Regions from separate parts of the Homo sapiens genome. Here all the other regions are linked to region 1. The links are contacts of gene promoters, found by promoter capture Hi-C in human tissues and cell types (Jung and others, 2019). All regions are on one chromosome and are shown on one strand. The core of a region is centred on a gene start or on the middle of the fragment in contact, and the rest is flanking DNA. Distances in the headings are between cores, read along the strand shown.

Region 1 (2,700 bases), core at 169-2,668:
AACAATAGCTATTCGAGGAAGTGGGGGCGGTAAGGAGGGGGTGAGGGCTACGTGGCCGAGTTGGCTCCTGGGGTGGCTGCGAAGCCTCGCGGCTGCAGAGGGGTTCCCCCTCTCCCCGAAGGCGAAGTCAGCCGCGTAGGACCAAGGACAGGGCTTGGAATCCACTTCCCAGCGCCCAGCACAGCGAGGCTCCCAAGCAGCCGGCACTTCATAGACACAGCTCCAAGGATCTTATTTACGCTTTTCTGAACAAAGGGAATCTCATATCCGGTACAGGCTTAAGAATTCAGCCCCAAATTGGCTATCTTCTTTTAAAACTGAATTATGATAATTGGAGTCCGTGAATCAGAGCCCGCATACAATGATGAGTTCTGACAGCTTCTAACAACCCTAGCCTCAGCCCAGCCCCAGCCCCAGCCCTCAGGCGGCATGTACTTTTTTCAGTCAACTACAACTCGCTGCCTGGTGCAGCATCTAAATTCCATCTGGCAATCCCATCTCCCCAGCACATGCTATCTGGTTAATGCAATTAAGCCTGTGGTTTTCGCTGGTCTAATCTGCCAGTCCAGGCTTCTGATTCCCCTTAATGATTGTAAAGCCTCTCCCGTCCTTCCGTTGCTGAGCCAAAGTAGAGGCATGCATCCCCAACACCCAAGTTATCACTCTCTCCCCACGAAATGAACTTCCGATCTCAATCTTGAAGCTCACTCCACATCTAACCTCCCATTGTACCCCTACTCCCCCCTGGCCACATTTACCACTTAAGTTTCTGCCATGGACATTTACGAATATTCAGTACGCTAAGCATGCGTCCACCGTCTTTTAGTCTAGCTCTTTAAAATTAAAAAAGCAGAACAGTAGCTTTGAAATGAGACAAACATGTGCAATTAACTTCATATTCTGTATTCCGCTCACTTACAGGTTTTCTGGGTTTGCCAGCGCATCGCTGCAACTAATGATTAAAGAAACCAAACCGAAACTTACCTTTCTCCCTTAAGGTTTTTGTGTATGTGTGTTTTTAAAGTAACGGTGCAGTTCTCCCAATAAGGATGAGCAAGAAGCTGCTGGATAGTTCTCTTAAGACAGCACGAAACCTAAACTGTGCTCGGCTTAAAAGAAGCAAATAAAAAGAAACGCTTTCGACCCCAAAGTCCAATGCTAAAAGAAATGGCGAAAAAAAATATGAAAGGGGAGGGGAAACTTAAAAAAGAGTTTAAAAAGACGGAGAGACTACCCTCCTATTGCCGTTCAACTAAACAAAAAGGGGCAAGAAAAACAAACCAAGGAACAAAGAAAAGAGACGAAAGAACGTTTTTTCAAAAAGACGATGTCTTTCTCCTTGTTGCTTTTTAGTAGGTCGCTACAGGAGTAAGCTGCTGCATCTCTAACTAAGAACAGAAATAGGGGGGAGGACGTCTTAAAAGGGAGGTGGACTGGACCACAGATTTATAGCACCGTATCACCAACCCCTTCTCTGCCTCCGCACTGCCGTGTGTGCAGCTGCTCTGCCAGGCTCCTATCCCGGGCAGCACGCGCGGAAGTATACGCCGAATCGCGCCACAACGTAACTTGCTCATCGCCCCAGGATCCTGATTGGTCCACACGCTTCCATTGAGGCCGCCCAGGCGGGGCCGCGTGAGACGATTGGCTATGGGCTTGTGTCACTCTCGAGAGCTCAATGGAGTCCCGTTTCAAGGTAAGTTGTGCGGGGAGGTACACTCTTAACACTGGCGGCGAAGGGAAATGCAAGAAGCAAAAAGAAATGTGGAGAGAGCAACGTGGGAGGGTTGGAACTGTACTATCAGAGTTTGCGATATGGCACGATCTCCTTTCCTCTTAAATCTTTCTGCTTCAGAAAGATTCATTTCCTTTGCCATCACTGCTGCATCTGTGGCATATTTCTTTATAACATTTAACTCTGTCCGGTATGTATGAGTCATTGAGAGCTCCCTCTCTTTGATCTGAGTGAAAGGGATGAATGTACATCCATTATTTGCCCGCATGCCTTTTTTCGATTTGTGTTCAGTACTGTATTTTGTATTAGATGTTAGGTAATTGTATGTCTTTATTTTAATATACGCATATTTCAGATTTATGTGTCCCCATGAACCCCTTTTTAAAGCATCCTTTTAAGATAAAGATGAAGTCAGAAATGCTCTCAAATAAAGCTGCACGGTTTGAATTGGCTTTCACTTCATGTTAGAATAGAAAAGTGTAGGATAAATATCCTATCCAGAAAAAGAGGTATTGAGTAGAGCTAAGGTCCTTCACTTCGAGGTGTCTAATGATTCTCAAAAAGAGCAGCTGTATATAAAACTGGAACAAGCCACTCCTCTGCATTTGCAGACAGGTACAGTCCTTGGACCACACATGTATTGCTGACAGCAAAGATAGTTGAACCTTTATCAGGGCTCTTTCTGTGAGGATTTAAGAAGTTTAACCAGAAGACCAAGTGCTATCAATGCTTCTGCTTCATAGAGGAAGACTACTTTATTACAACCCCATATTTTAACAGCATTCAGGAGACCAAAATACAGTTTTATGCATGATAATTGTTTCTTCCTCTAAGTGAAAGTGAGGTCCTCAGGATCGTCTGGATGTATAAGTAGACACAATATTCATTTGACCTACGTTCTTTTCCAGCCAGCATTTCTCTTTTCAATCTTGAAAGATAGCACCAACTTCCTAGACAGTTTTTAC
Region 2 (2,700 bases), core at 28-2,527, 36 kb before region 1:
CTTAAAGGGAACATGGAGCACTTTAACATCCTCTCTTTGGCATGTCAGAACTGCCAGCATCACTACTCTTGTGCTTTGGGGCCGCTGAAAGTAAAAGAAGGGCTACTTGAACACGAGCAGTGCAATACCTCGAAAGTCAATCTTATAACTGAGATGGCTATACTAAGGGACTAACAGCATGGATACACTAGACAAAGGGAGGATTCACATCCTGACTGGTCAGCATGAGGGTACATCACACTATTCAGAAGTACACGCAGTGTAAAACTTGTGAATTGTTTATGCCTGGAATTTTCCATTTAATATTTGTGAACCACAGTTGACTGCAGGTAACGGAAATCATGGAAAGCGAAACTGTGGGTAAGGAGGAACTACTGCCATCCAAGCAAAAGAAAAGAGACCAACGGCTTCTGTATTCTTATAGAGGGCAGTGTAAGAATATAGTCCCCCAATTTTTTCCTTCTTACCATTACAACTTTAGATGGCCTTGTTAAAGACTCAGTAAATGGGGAATAGAAGTTTGGCCTGCTTATTCAGTTCCTATTAGTCCCTATATAGAGGGACTGCTTATTCAGTCCCTATACAGAGGGTCAGTGACCCTCTATATCAGTCTAGGCCAGTGCCCAGACACTAGACGCAGCCACAAGAAATGCAAGTTTTCCTAAATGGTAAGGTGGAATGTATGTCCCCTAACCCTACTGAAGTGACCGTCATTTCACAAATAGTGAATTTATATATTAAGTGATTTATTAAATTTATGCTACATACAAAATTACGTATTAAAATGCATATGTGTCCTCAACTGAATTCTTGAGGCATAGTATTGAGGAAACAGTTCAAAATAGTAATACAATTCGGTAAAACTTTTAATTATTTCTCAAAAGAATCCACACAACTTAAAATCTGACACCTGCTGAATGATAAAGCTTGGTCATCTGCACAACTTCCTATTCAACTTTCATTTTCACAAACCTTATTTTGTCTTAAGATGATTTCCACGCACTCAGCAGGGTAATCTTTTAGCTAAATGATCCGAAACCCACAATCTGAATGGCAAGAAATTGCTTCCTAAATAATGTATCGTATTATACAAGCTATCACATATCTCCCTTCCCCAGAAAAGTAAATAAACATTCTTAAAGACAGCCCAGAGGAAAACAGTATGGTTGCAAAACAGTTAGCTTCTTATATCTTTCAAGACTTTACTAAATGTCACTTATAAATGAGAAAACATATTTGAAGTTTTTAAGTGTTCTATGCTTTTTAAACCCTTTCCTGAATGTATACAGGTAGGACACTCAGAGGTAAGGTAAGGGGTAACCATGTTCCTAAATTACATTAATTTCTAATGCCTGAAACCAAAGTTTTCAAAGGGCTATAAATGCTTGAATAATCCATTAAGATACACAAAATGACAGGTTGATGGTAAAAAAGGGGAAAAAAAAAAAACAACCTTTCAACAAATGACAAATTTTCTCCTAAATCATTCTTTGGTTAGAGGACCAATGTAAAAGAGGCAGGTCCGAGTGCTGTTTTGTACTGGAAACAAAACAGATGTAACAGGTGTAATGAATACCAGAGAGAGATGAGACAGAAAATCTTGAAATTAAACTTCTGTGGTAGAAAAAAAGAGAGGGAATACAAAAATATATGGAAATGCCTGGTTGGATGAAAGGAGAGTAGATATTCTAACCAAACCATTTAAATCCACATTATTAGACACCCCAATACCCGCTTTCCCAGTCTGTGACTGCACAGGTAAAGCCAAAATATATTTTCTGCTTTGGAATAGATTTTCTACTTAGGATTAGTTACAGGCATATCGGCTGCTCTGGGAATTCACTTTCAAATATAATGAGGCCACACTAAAAACTTGAAGGAAGTGAAATAGTATCCTTCATCTCATCTGTCACCATAAAGCTCAACGTAAAGAAAGCTAAAAGGCTCACTGCAGTCCCTCAAGAAAAAGTTAAAGGTTTGACTCTCTGCTGATTACCTTGAATAGACAGCCAAATTAGGCTGGAGCAAATAACTATAAACTGACTATCTAATGTAACTAGGCATTAGCCATTCATCCCAGAGCTTTAATTTTATGTTTTATATATTACGGTTCCCCTGGTGATTTTCCGCATACCTCATTAAGTTCTGACTTGAGGATGTCTGCTCTGGACGAGCACACAGAGCAACACAACACAAAACATCCTAAACCTCACATCTCTTAGTATTTCCAACACAAACATCGCAGGTCTCCTGATGAACACTTAACCTCTACATGTTCTCTAAGTACAGAGTGCCTAGAGTCTCAGAGCTGCACAGACACCAGCAGACATTCTGTGAAAACACTGCCAAGACCCTCTTGACATCTGTGGCAAAAACATCCTGTCTTCTAAATATATGTTCTGTTTAAGTGGCTTTTAAAGCATAAGCATGGTGCCTTTAAAAGCAGTTTGTAACAAGAGGTCAAACTATAAAACTGAAGAGGTTAGAGAAGAAATCAATTGTATATCAATTGTCAAAACTCAACTTTAAAAGGCAGAGGTGGTCACAAACTACTGTACAGACAGGGTAAATGGAAAAGAAATCTCCAGGTTGAAAACGGCAAATGCTAATCGCAGGGGTGGGAGCAAGGAGTCTTGACCAATCGTAAAGATGAGAAAGCATTTCCCTTCTGGAATGAAAAACTAAAACTGTAGATCAGAA
Region 3 (2,700 bases), core at 142-2,641, 40 kb after region 1:
GATGCAGTTTTTTAATAGTGTTGATGGTCTTTACAATTTGTCACGTTTTTGCAGTGGCTGGAACAGGTTTTTCCTTTCCATATTTAGTGCTTCCTTCAGGAGCTCTTGTAAGGCAGGCCTGGTGGTGACAAAATCTCTCAGCATTTGCTTGTCTGTAAAGGATTTTATTTCTCCTTTGCTTATGAAGATTAGTTTGGCTGGATATGAAATTTTGGGTTGAAAATTCATTTTTTTAAGATTGTTGAATGTTGGCCCCCACTCACTTCTGGCTTGTAGGGTTTCTGCAGAGAGATCCGCCGTTAGTCTGATGGGCTTCATTTTGTGGGTAACCAGACCTTTCTTTCTGGCTGCCCTTAACATTTTTTCCTTCATTTCAACCTTGGTGAATCTGACAATTATGTGTCTTGGGGTTGCTGTTCTCAAGGAGTATCTTTGTGGTGTTCTCTGTATTTCCTGAATTTGAATGTTGGCCTGTTTTGCTGGGTTGGGGAAATTCTCCTGGATAATATCCTGAAGAGTGTTTTCCACCTTGGTTCCATTCTCCCCATCACTTTCAGGTACACCAATCAAACGCAGGTTTGGTCTTTTCACATAGTCCCATATTTCTTGGAGGTTTTGTTCATTGTTTTTATTCTTTTTTCTCTAATCTTGTCTTCACGCTTTATTTCATTAACTTAATCTACAGTCTCTGATATCCTTTCTTCCACTTGATCGATTTGCCTATTGATACTTGGGTATGCTTCACGAAGTTCTCATGCTTTCTTTTTCAGCTCCATCAGGTCATTTATGTTCTTCTCTAAACTGGTTATTCTAGTTAGCAATTAGTCTAACCTTTTATCAAGGTGCTTAGCTTCCTTACATTGGGTTATAACAAGCTGCTTTAGCTCAAAGGAGTTTGTTATTACCCACCTTCTGAAGCCTATTTCTGTCAGTTCATCAAACTCATTCTCCATCCAGTTTTGTTCCCTTCCTGGCAAGAAATTGTGATCCTTTGGAGAAGAGGCAGTCTGGTTTTTGGAATTTTCAGCCTTTTTGCACTGGTTTTTCCTCATCTTCGTGAATTTATCTACCTTTGGTCTTTGATGTTGGTGACCTTTGGATGGGGTTTTTGTGTGGACGTCCTTTTCGTTGATGTTGATGATATCACTTTCTGTGGGTTTTCCTTTTAACAGTCACGCCCCTCTGCTGTAGGTCTGCTGGAGTTTGCTGGAGGTCCACTTCAGACCCCGTTTGCCTGGGTATCACCAGTGGAGGCTGCAGAACAGCAAAGATTGCTGCCTGTTCCTTCCTCGGGAAGTTTTGTCCCAGAGGGGCACCTGCCAGATGCCAGCCAGAGTTCTCCTATATGAGTTGTCTGTCAACCCCTGCTGGGAGGTGTCTCCCAGTCAGGGGGCATGGGGGTCAGGGACCCACTTGAGGGGGCAGTCTCTCCCTTAGCAGAGCTCAAGTGCTTTGCTGAAAGATCCGCTGCTCTCTTCAGAGCTGCAGGCAGGAACATGTAAGTCTGCTAAAGTTGCGTCCACAGCCGCCCGTTCCCCCAGGTGCTCTGTCCCAGGGAGATGGGAGTTTTATCTGTAAGCCCCTGACTGAGGCTGCTGCGTTTCTGTCAGAGATACCCTGCCCAGAGAGGAGGAATCTAGAGAGGCAGTCTGACTACAGCAGATTTGCAGAGCGGCGGTGGGCTCAGCCCAGTTTCAACTTCCCAGTGACTTTGTTTACGCTGTGAGGGGAAAACTGCCTACTCAAGCCTTAGTAATGGTGGACACCCTTACCCCCATCAAGCTCCAGCATCTCCAGTCAATTTTAGACTGCTGTGCTGGGTAAACGAATTTTAAGCCAGTGGATCTTAGCTTGCTGGGCTCCATGGGGGTGGGATCCGCTGAGCTAGACCACTTGGTTCCCTGTATTCAGCCCCCTCTGCATGGCAGTGAAGGGTTGTGTCATTGGCATTCCAGGCACCACTGGGGTATGAAAAAAAAACTCCTGCAGCTAGCTCAGTGTCTGCCCAAACAGCCGCCCAATTTTTTCCTTGAAACCCAGTACCCTGTTGGTGTAGGCACCTGAGGGAATCTCCTGGTCTGTGGGTTGTGAAGGCTATGGGGAAAGTATAGTATGTGGGCCAGAATGCACCATTCCTCACGGCACAGTCCCTCATGGCTTCCCATGGCTAGCCAGTTCCCTGACCCCCTGTGCTTCACAGGTGAGGCAATGCCCCACCCTGCTTTGGCTTACCCTCTGTGGGCTACACTCACTGTCTAACCAGTCCCAATGAGATGAGCCGGGTTCCTCAGTTGGAACTGCAGAAATCACCTGCCTTCTGCATTGATATGGCTGGGAGCTGCAGACTGGAACTATTCCTATTCAGCCATCTTGCCATAGAATTCTGTGGTTTCTATGAAGCAAAGCTACCCAGAAGGAGCAGTAAGGTGTTGACAGGGAACAAGTGGCCCAAGACAGCAACTTTAAGTTTTTCCTAAGCGATACCCTGTATTTATGCACATCCAGAAACATGGTCCAAGGAGGAACACTGTGCCTCGTTTTAACCTTTACTGTATTGTCTATTGCTGATCTAACAAACTACCATAAACTTTCTGGCTTAAAACAATACAATTCAGCAACACAAAGTTTTGAAGGCCAGAAATTCAAATTTGGTCTTACTAGGCTAAGAGTCTTCTGTTAACAATAGAGAAGAATCTGTTT

Evidence for each region. The method cuts DNA at HindIII sites, captures the fragments that hold promoters and counts their contacts. A contact is called where the count stands out against the background at its distance.
Region 2: a fragment that was not itself captured here is called in contact with the fragment with the promoter of ELAVL2 in region 1 in 1 of the 25 tissues and cell types used here (pancreas).
Region 3: a contact is called between a fragment that was not itself captured here and the fragment with the promoter of ELAVL2 in region 1, in 1 of the 25 tissues and cell types used here (mesenchymal stem cells).

What each region holds. Positions count from the first base shown.
Region 1 is chr9:23,824,822-23,827,521 of GRCh38, forward strand. ELAVL2 (ELAV like RNA binding protein 2) reads right to left here and starts at 1,419. Exons shown (of 7, transcript NM_004432.5): 1 at 985-1,419. LOC105375992 (a long non-coding RNA gene) reads left to right here and starts at 1,607. Exons shown (of 3, transcript XR_929519.3): 1 at 1,607-1,696. The HindIII fragment of the contact is 12,029 bases long and covers 1-2,700 here.
Region 2 is chr9:23,788,632-23,791,331 of GRCh38, forward strand. The region is part of intron 1 of ELAVL2 (ELAV like RNA binding protein 2); the gene reads right to left. Among named protein-coding and RNA genes, the nearest start is that of ELAVL2, 36 kb to the right of the region's middle. The HindIII fragment of the contact is 3,613 bases long and covers 1-2,700 here.
Region 3 is chr9:23,864,680-23,867,379 of GRCh38, forward strand. All of the region lies in intron 2 of LOC105375993 (a long non-coding RNA gene), which reads left to right. Among named protein-coding and RNA genes, the nearest start is that of ELAVL2, 40 kb to the left of the region's middle. The HindIII fragment of the contact is 9,543 bases long and covers 1-2,700 here.